3 separate regions of the Homo sapiens genome follow, and all the other regions are linked to region 1. Evidence: promoter capture Hi-C in 16 types of primary human blood cells and fetal thymus (Javierre and others, 2016). All regions are on one chromosome and are shown on one strand. Each heading gives the region's core, a stretch centred on a gene start or on the middle of the fragment in contact. The rest is flanking DNA. Distances are from core to core; before and after follow the strand shown.

The links. The method cuts DNA at HindIII sites, captures the fragments that hold promoters and counts their contacts. A CHiCAGO score of 5 or more calls a contact.
Region 2: a fragment that was not itself captured here is called in contact with the fragment with the promoter of AP5Z1 in region 1 in 2 of 17 cell types (M0 macrophages and M2 macrophages); the score reaches 5.6 in M0 macrophages.
Region 3: a fragment that was not itself captured here is called in contact with the fragment with the promoter of AP5Z1 in region 1 in 1 of 17 cell types (erythroblasts); the score reaches 5.5 in erythroblasts.

What each region holds. Positions count from the first base shown.
Region 1 is chr7:4,774,115-4,777,355 of GRCh38, reverse strand. It overlaps AP5Z1 (adaptor related protein complex 5 subunit zeta 1), which reads right to left and starts at 1,733. Exons shown (of 17, transcript NM_014855.3): 1 at 1,600-1,733. The coding sequence starts at 1,640. RefSeq lists enhancers at 1,055-1,164, 1,185-1,244, 1,585-1,654, 2,085-2,174, 2,215-2,264 and 2 more and a silencer at 1,775-1,904. The HindIII fragment of the contact is 11,700 bases long and covers 1-3,241 here.
Region 2 is chr7:2,800,946-2,804,186 of GRCh38, reverse strand. All of the region lies in intron 1 of GNA12 (G protein subunit alpha 12), which reads left to right. Among named protein-coding and RNA genes, the nearest start is that of GNA12, 42 kb to the left of the region's middle. The HindIII fragment of the contact is 2,019 bases long and covers 513-2,531 here.
Region 3 is chr7:2,863,372-2,866,612 of GRCh38, reverse strand. No RefSeq gene overlaps it. Among named protein-coding and RNA genes, the nearest start is that of GNA12, 21 kb to the right of the region's middle. RefSeq lists a silencer at 1,918-1,997 and an enhancer at 2,775-2,904. The HindIII fragment of the contact is 683 bases long and covers 1,108-1,790 here.

The DNA of each region.
Region 1 (3,241 bases), core at 484-2,983:
AAGAGGGCTCTTCCTTTTGTTTTTCATGTCACAAGTTTATGACCTTGAGCAGAATGTGACTGGGAATGAAGTTCTCAGTGGGTGTTTTTCCTTGTCTCTTGGCAAGGACCTTGGGATTAACATGTTACATGCTGAGATGCCAGTATTTTTCATTTTCATATAGTCCCCACATTCACATGAATGACATATCTGTCCAGGATTGAAGGGAAGGTTGCCTATGTTGAGCTGCTGGGAGATGGTGCTGCATATTCACCAAGCCTCTTCCTAATGAGTGGACTCTTAAGGGTTATTTTGATCAGAGATTTTTGTCCTGTTCGGGCTTTAGAACTTAACCTGCCTTCAAGACCTCACTCACTATAATCACAGCAATTTCAACCACCCGAATCTTTCCCACCAATTGGTCTAGCTCTGAGTCCAGGTTTGCTTGTTTGTTTTGACATGGAGTCTCGTTCTGTCACCCAGACTGGAGTCCAGTGGTGCGATCTTGGCTCACTGCACCCTCGGCCTCCTGGGTTCATGCACTTCTCCTGCTTCGGCCTCTCACCTCACCAAGTTTGTTTACGTTTACCAAGGGGCTGTAGTGCTGGCTGTATTTTCTTTACTTTTTTTCTTTTTTCTTTTGAGACGGAGTTTCGCTCTGTCCCCCAGCCTGGAGTGCAGTGGCGCCATCTCAGCTCACTGTAACCTCCACCTCACAGGTTCAAGCAATCCTCCTGCCTCAGCCTCCCGAGTAGCTGGGATTACAGTCACCCACCACCACGCCCGGCTAATTTTTTTTTTTTTTTTTTTTTTTGTATTTTCAGTAGAGACGTGGTTTCCTCATGTTGGGCACGCTGGTCTCGAACTCCTGACCTCAGGTGATCCGCCTGCCTTGGCCTCCCAAAGTGGTGGGATTACAGGCGTGAGCCACCACGCCCGGTCAGCATTTTCTTCTTTTAAACATGTAGTATGAAGTCTTTGCCTGTTTGGTGGACCGTGAGTCTGTTCAGTCCTGGCTTACACTGTTTTCCCCCATGACTGGTTAGTTGGTGAGGAAGGAGCTACTCACTCGTTACTGGGAGTCCAGACACAGCCTGAAACCAGCCTGGAGGGTGATTTCTCAGCCTAGCTAATACATCCGCGCAAGAGAGATCTTTTTAAGTCACAAAACCCTCCCACGGTTCCGCAAAGCCCTCGGATGGCCTCCAGCTCCCCAGCCTGGCACACAGCCTTATTCCTTAGCAGGCCTCCGGACACTGTGACTTTGCGTTCTTGACTGTGAGGCACTGAAATCTCCCGGCTGCCCGATTTCCTGCCAGACGCGGAGTTCTCACCGCCAAGCCTTTGACTAAACTGTCGACTGGGTCCCACCCCACTTGCTTTCACTCACCAAGACTCTGCTCAAGTGTCACCTCCTCCGGGGACCCACCATGACCCTCCCCGACCTCCTCACCCCAAGCCTGGCCGCCGTGTTGCCTTACCCGATCCCCAAGTCTCGAGGGCGAGTCCAGTCGGGTTCCTGCAAGGCTGGCGCCCAAGCCCCTGCCCTGTGAGACCCACCCCCGTGTGCCCCTAGGGAGAGATGCAGGAAGGAGGGCCGGGGCCGCAGCTCCCCCGTACCTGGCCTGGTGGAGCAAACTCTCCGCTCCTGCCGAGAACATCACGCCGCCGCCACCAGACGCGCACGAACCTCGGAAACTCCAGGAGCTGCAGCCCAGGAGCTCCGCACCCCGGTCAACTTCCGGGACCGCGTCACGTGAGCGCAGCGGCCTTACGTGGCTGCGTCACGTGCCGCATCACATGAGCAGGAGGGACAGGTTGCCGACCAATGGGCTTTGGCGTGGAGCGACTGGGGCGGGGCGTAGGTGCCGCGGCCGGGGGTCCGGGTCGGCGCCTGGGAGCTGCGGAATCGCGCGACCCCGGAACCTCGGCACTCTGGAGCCCCGGCGCCCTTCGACCCCGGAAAGCATTTCGGCGGAAATTGGGCGCCTGGGGCTTTGGGAGAGGGCATTGCTGGCCCCAAAGTGTCACTGCCCCAGTTCTGGTTTCTGTTTCGTAAACAGCTTTGTCGTGCGGGAGTCCCTTTGCTAAGTACGACCTGAAAATCTGATGCAAACTCCGACACTTGTGGGCTGAGCCCAGCAGTGTCCAGCAGTTTGCAAGGAATAGCCGCGGCTCTGGGCAGTTTTGGGGATTTTTTGAGCTCCCATTTATTGAGCACCCATCCCGCGCTGTTCCTGCTGCTTGAAACGAAAAAATCCCTTATTCAATCCCCACGGTATTCATGGGATCTCGCGATCTCTGTTTTACAGATGAGGCCACAGGCTCGGAGAGGGGAAGTTTCTGTTCATTCTAACGGATGTGTTGGGTGCCCAAATGTGCTGGGCCCTGGCCATAAGTTTGCCATCCTGCAGACGGCCGAGGGACACAGGGCGACACGCCAGCGTCATGATAAACGCTATGACAGCCTGACCTGGTTGGGGGTCCAACCGGAGGAGGAAGGCTTCGGCGACTGCGGCCTAAGATGAGCCCAGAGGGTGTCCAGACCAAGGGGTGGGGAGGGACGGGCCTAGGGTAGCGATCTGCTTCCTATGGCTTAAATGCACCCCAGGAGGAAACTGATCTCTGGCCGCAGGGGAGATAATGGATTGGGAAGCTCCTGAGGGAGAAAGGAGGCTGGTGCAGTTGTGGTCCAGGTAAGGGAGGTTGCCCCGAAAGTAGGCAGATTCAGTACCATTTAGAGGTAGGATTTGCACCACCTGTGATTGAGGAATTTGCAGGCAGGAGGAAGAAAGTGGAAAAATCAAGGGTAACTTCATGTTTGTGGGGTGTCTGTCTGGGGCAGAAAAGGACGAGGAAATTTGTGCCAAGAGTCATTCATTAAGTGGACAAGCGATGATTGAGTCCTAGCTGCGCTAGGCACTGCTGAAGGTTCTGGGGAATAGGGTAGGGGTGGGAATCAATGTTGCGTAGATAGGGTGGGTCAAGGTTAGGCCTTGAAGGGATAAGCCCCGAGAAGACCCCTGGATGGAAGGAAGGAGGAGGAGGAGGGAGGGCTTCCTGCAGGAGTTCCAAACATGGCTTTGAGATGCCCTAGGGCGCCCAGTGATGTCTGAGGGCACCTGGTGCAGAGAATGAAGAGATGGGAATCGGTGGATGGTGAGCGGTGGATGGGAGTCGGTGGAGTGCGGCGGGTGCCCCTGGAGCCGCAGGTTGAAGACTGGCAAAGGAAAGCTGGTGACAGGTAGTCTATGGAAAGCCT
Region 2 (3,241 bases), core at 273-2,772, 2.0 Mb after region 1:
CTGTTACCTGTTGATAGTGTGTGCAAGCTTTTCCCCCTTAGAATGATATTTTGTGTGTTTGTGTTCTCAAGTTTTGCTGATCTTTTCTGTACTTAAGAGGACGATTTCGTTCCCCCTTGTACTAGTGTTTGTCATGTAGTGAAATTTTTAGTGAAGGGAGATTCCGAGACTTATCCTGACCCCTGGAAGAACAGGAGAGGAAGAAGTTGGTCTGCCCATGGCCATGGCTGGCGGGTGGGGGTTGGGGAGATGATTCCAGGAGTTTCCAGCCTGCTGGCTTGTGAGTTTTGAAATGGAGCCCTGGATTTTCACTTTCCAGTTCAGGAGATCTGGGGAAATCTGGATTGGTTTGGAGTTGTTTTTTTGTTTGTTTGTTTTGTTTTGTTTTGTTTTGGACTTTTAGGAAAACCTTTTCAAGGCAGCTGAAAAAAGCTAATGATGATAATTTGCTTCTCCTATGCCATTCCTAAACCCAGAGTTTTCTCTGCAGTTCCATCTCCTCTTGAGAAGCTTAGCTTGGATTTCCCACTGTCCAACTGAACTAAATTTGTTGAAAACCTACCTAAATGTCACCCCTTCTAAGCCATCCCCTCCTGTGGACCTGACTTGGGAGAACTGGTGGGTATTGTGCTTACACAACAGGGCCCTCACTGCTCTCCGTGCTCTGCAGGTTTGGTGAATTCCTGGTTTTGGATCTCTCCATCTTTTATTGAGAGCACTTGGGGTGAGAGCACTTAGGGGGCTCCTGATCACTCTCCTGCTTTAGCTGCTCCTTCCCTGCCTCCTGTCCCACCTGCCACGGGACCTGCAGGCAGCCTCAGACCTTGCCATTCTCCTTTTCCAAAGCCCTCGATCGTCCCCTTTCTCACACAGACTTCTTAGCTCTCCACAGCCTGTCTGTGAGCGAGGCCTCACCAGCGGTGGCGATTCTGGCTGTCCTCCGACGGTCCTGTCCTTCCAGTTATGGGGCTGGCCTCTGTACTCTGCATCTGAGACTGTCGCTTATCTGCTCGTGCTCTGTCTTGCTGCTACGCTTGTTTTGAAAGTTCTCCCATAGCAGGAGCCAAGTTTACCGCCTTTTGGGTTTTCCCCATTCGTTACCCACCACTTTTCATTGCCTGAGGTGAGCCCTCGGTATAGTCACTGGCAGAGCCAAGAGGGGGCTTTCTTAGAGAAATAATAGGCCTGATCCCGTACGGCAGTGCATTTGTTGCGGAAGGCAAATCCGCGGAGTTATGGTGGGGCCAGGGCTGCGCTGTGAAATGGCAGAGGCTCTGATGGCTGGTTTGACGGCTTACTGCCTCCCTTCGTCAGTTTCTCGCTGACCTTTACACTAAAAGGTATCTTGCACTTCAGTTTTCGAGAGGAACTAAGAGGCGCTGTCTTTGTTTGCTGGATTCATCAATGTAAAGAAATGCATCCTGTTTACACTTCTGGCAGCGTTTCTTTTATTTGGATGGTGGCCAAAGGCAAACAACTCAGCCGAGTGGGTTTTTAAAAAACAGAGCTTTCCAAGTCCACATGCTGTTGCCCGAGTGAACATCCAGAATCTTCAGTTTGTCTTAATGGAACTGTTTCATCTTGTAGAAAAAGGCTCATATTATCTTAAAGCATTTTATGTCTATCGTAGCTTTGGTATTTATTGTGGGAAGATTTTACTAAGGAATGACTAATCTTAAAAGATTTGGTTTGATTAGGGGCTAAACTAACATAATCTATTTTGAAATGAGATAACAGGATTTGCAGTTTTTGGTCTTCATCCAGCAAAATTGAACCCCACCCCCCACCCCCCCAAAAAAAATCTACATCCCCAGCAGAGAGGGAATCTATACTTTGACTAGAAGTTTAAGTTGCTGGATTTATAAGTTGTCTTAAAAATATGCTGTCTGAACAGTTTGAAGTGTGACATTGTATTGAGATGAAGTCATCAAACTGCTTGAGACTTTAACCGTTTATATTTGGGTAACCAAATAAAATGTATGGTTATTCAAACAATTAATACTTCAGTAATACCATTACTGAAAAAAGGATTTTTCTCTTAGCTATTAAAGAGACTTGAATGAGTTGTCGTTCTTATTTATTTTAAGTGTATGTGAGTTTTAGGATTTTCTTGGCTTTTGTGTTTTAGAAAATTGGTCTTTCATTGGAAAAGGACAGGAGTAAGAGGTTTATTATAATATGCCTCCTATACTAGTATTTTACTTTTAAGACTTTAGCAATTCTATATAACAATGGTAAAAGTGTAACTATCAGTTCTGCAAAAGTACGGTAAATACATTATTGTTACAGGCTTTAAACTCCAGAGAGAGCTTACGTCTCTCTCTAAAAAGGAAGAAAAGGGGACTCAGAATTTAGCCAAATGTCCCCAAGTAGAAAACTTCGCTGGAACTCAGATGTGGATTTTCAGAACAAAGTTGGCAGAGAGCAGTTTTTGACTAGAATAAATGTAAAAGGGCAAAAGAGAGACATCTTTTTTTTTTAATGCCTTTTTTCCTTCAAAGGAAGGGAAAATGGACTGTAACTACAAAGCTTACAAAACTACTACTTAACTGTTCAAAGCTCATCAGTAGTTTAGCCACCTTTCTTGTGTTTTGAAAAAGGGAAAGGAGGAGTCTTTTCTTGTGGTTGGGTGCAGTTCATTTGGACCAGCTCCAGCCTGCTTGGGCGGATTGTGCGGTGGGAATAGACTGCTGTTGCATGGGCCAGTTTTGCGTGTGTGTGTTTTTAAGCCAAACCTATGTTCACCCTGATAGTTGGGGAAGGCCTGGTGTGTGCAGTCCTGCAGTCTTCGTAAGTGACCTTTGGCCTTCCAAGTCCTACCTGGCCCCCTGACTTCGTCTTTGACATAAAAATGAAACTTCCTAGGGGTTATTGATTTAACTTCTGAGTGAGATTGTACTCCTTGTGAAGCTAAACTTTTCATTTGTAAAAATAGCACCTGAATAGATACCTGGTGGGTCGGACCCAATTTCTGTATTTGAGTTGGACGAGCAGGGCCTTCCCGGATAGCGGGAGGGTTGGTGACTTGATTGGGAGGGCATGGAGGCTGAAACCCCATCCAAGCCACTGTTGCCAGGCTGGGCCGCATCTGCCTGGATGATGGAGAGCGTTTTTCTGATTTGTACAAAGGCACCGAGACCCTTTGCCCGAGACCTCGCCAGAGAAATCTGTGTGCTACCTTCTCCGTGCCGAGATAGTTTTTGTTGTGCATAGTGGGGAAAAGAGGAATTGCCTTTGTTTC
Region 3 (3,241 bases), core at 200-2,699, 1.9 Mb after region 1:
GGAGGGGGAACTGGAGCCTCCCCAGGGCCATAAGTTTATACCACCCCCTAGAGCATACCTGCCACGCCAGGTGAGCAAAGGAATGCTCAGAATTGAGCTTAAATGACCAAGTTCATCTGGAATTGGCCAAGATGACATTTTCCATCATCAGTCTGAAAAGGGGCTGGAAATAACGATTAGGTTGGGTCACAGAAAAACACAGTCCTAGCCGGGTACAGTGGCTCATACCTGTAATCCCAGCACTTTGGGAGGCTAAGGTAGGAGGATCCTTTGAGCTCAGGAGTTCAAGACCAGCCTGAGCAATATGGCAAAACCCCGTCTCTACAAAAAATATAAAAAATTAATGAGTCAGGTGTGGTGTCAAGCACCTCTGGTCCCAGCTACTCAAGAGGCTGAGGTGAGAGGACCGCTTGCGCCCTGGAGGTTGAGGCTGCAATGAGCTGTGATCCCACCACTGCACTCCAGCCTGGGCAACAAAGCGAGACCCTGTCTCAAATAAAAGAAAAAAGGGCCAGGCGTGGTGGCTCACACCTGTAATCCCAGCACTTTGGGAGGCCAAGGCATGTGGTTCACTTGAGATCAGCAGTTCAAGACCAGCCTTACCAACATGGTGAAACCTTATCTCTACTAAAAATACAAAAATTAGCTGAGCGTGGTGGTGGGCACCTGTTATCTCCAGCCTGGGCGACAGAGAGACTTGGTTTCAAAAAAAAAAAGAAAGAAAAAAAAAAGGAAAAAAACACAGCCCTGGTTTTGCTTCACTCAAGTACATGGAATAAGAAACGCTTGCCTGCTGGCCAAGTGACCCTCCCACAGCGGTCAGGAAGCTTCTAGAACCCGGTTATGTTGGCTGAAAGCAGAAATGGCCAAGTCAACCTCAGTGTGATATTGAGGGGGCTCCTGGGGCTGGAAGCATGCACCCCAAACTTAGACCCCGGCAAAAGGAGTGGGGAAGATGCCGGTGCCATGAGGGCAGGAAGCTGAGTTTGTTGCTAGGGGCCTGGGAGTGTTCCCGGAGGACGGGAGCCCTGTGAGGGGCATCTGGCGGCTGACACTGATGAATGGCTGTGCCGGGCCAGCCTTACCTGGGCAGCCAAGGCCAAAGCTTGGGGGCAGGAGGAGTGGCAGTGACACGGCTGCAGCTGGATGGAATCCGGGGCCTGAACCCCAGCATCCCCTCCCTGACACCCTACAGCTACCCATAGCCGGGGAGGTGGGGAGGTGCCGGCCCTCGGCCCACAATGCTGATCACATCTGTCTGGTTCTGAGGAGGAAATCCAGGACCTAATGAGAACAAATGGCAGCCTGGATAACTCATCTGTGGTCACAGATGAGATTTCCCCACCCGCTGCACCCCTAATTCAGCAGAGGCCATCTATGGGTTTCCTTGTGTGGCATGAGCGACACCTGGTGGTCACAGATGGGAATTTCGAGTCATGTTCTTCAGGCTGCTTGGGACACCCCACCTGGACCCCATCCCACTCTGGGCAAAGGCAAGACCACCACTGAGCTCAGGGTGCACCTGAGACTTGGCCGCAGCAAGGAGATGTAGATACAAGGATCACGTCAGAAGACGTTTCATTCATTCATTCACGTTCCCAAGCATTTAGTGAGCGCATACCAGGTATCAGGAAGAGATGAACAAAATGGTTTTATGAAGTTTGCATCCTAATGAGGAAAGCAGATAACAAGCATGTAAATATCAGATAATTCCTTACTGTTAAGTGCTGTGAGAATTCACAAGGTTCAGAAATTGAGTCAAAAATCTTTCTCAGTACCCTCAATAAGCTTCATCTCAGGCCGGGCGCAGTGGCTCACGCCTGTAATCCCAACACTTCAGGAGGCCGAGGCGGGGTGATAACTTGAGGTCAGGAGTTTGAGACCAGCCTGGCCGACAGTGAAACCCCGTCTCTACCAAAAAATAGAAAAATTAGCCAAGCGTGGTGGCACATGCCTGTAGTCACAACTACTCGGGAGGCTGAGGTGGGAGAATCATTTGAACCTAGGAGGCAGAGGTTGTAGTGAGCTGAGATCTTGCCACTGCACTCCAGCCTGGGCAACAGAGAGAGACTCTATCAAAAAAAAAAAAAGTGTAAGCCTCATCTTAGCTGAATCCCTGGACACTTACCTTGCCACAGGTCCCAGGCCCCAACCTCAGGAACTTTATATGGACTCTTGCGAAAGTGAGGCAGTGGAGTGACTGGGCAACGGATGTGGAATCAGGAAGACCTTGGGTTCCAATCCTGACTCTGCCACCTCCTAATTTTGTGGCCTTGGGCACATTACCTACCTTGTCTCAGCCTGTTTCCTCAACAGAGAAAAATGGGAATTACAACAGGACCTTATTACAGGACCTACCTCCTAGTTACAAAACTTAATGCCATAACTTACGGTCAGAAAAGTGCTTGGAGCATCTCCAGACCCAGAGAACCACTTGCAGTAAATATTAGCTGCTATTGTTATTGATATTACTATTGTGCCGACACTCCAGACCTTCTCCTCCTCCTCCTCTTCCTCCTCTTCCCCTCCCAACCCCAGAAGCCAGGAGAAAGAGGAAGGACCGCAGCCAGTCCCCCCGACCTCTCCCCTCCTTCTCCAGGGCTCTCCGGCCAAGGCTAAGCCAGCCCTTCAGTGGGGGACAAGATGAGTGCGAAATTGCATGTGAGATGGCAGTTTCAGACTCAACCAGACTGGCCTTTCTATTGCCCAGAATTACCCAAGCTGAGGCTAAGGGACAGGAAGCAGAGATTGGAAAGGGCAGGGCTGACGGGAGTGAGTCACTGGTGGGGAGAAAATGAACCACTTCCTGTGTGTTCCCACAGAGGTCAGGGCCCTCAGCAAACAGCGACAGGCTACAGGCTCGTTCTCCGGGCCTGGAGGAGGCTCGGTGCCCAGCGTCTCCGGAGGACTGGCTCTTCCCTCCGCCTGGGGAGTTTGCGGGCCCCAGACACAATCCCCAGGGAGGGGCTCGGCTCTGGACAGCCTTGGCCTCTTTCCCCAGATTTCCCCAGCACTCACACTCTCGGGAGGCTCAGGGTCTGTACTGAGAAGGGCCCTTGCTCGGCGTGGTGCTCTGCTGTGGCTGTTTTGAAATTCGTAATACTTTTTGGACAAGAGGCCCCACATTTTCATTTTGCACAAATTGTGCAGCCGGTCCTGAATCATTGCTGGCTTTCCAAGGTCACAGCCAGCAAATGGAACTAACTCCAGGGCTCCTGGTCATCTGTGCCCCCACAGATAC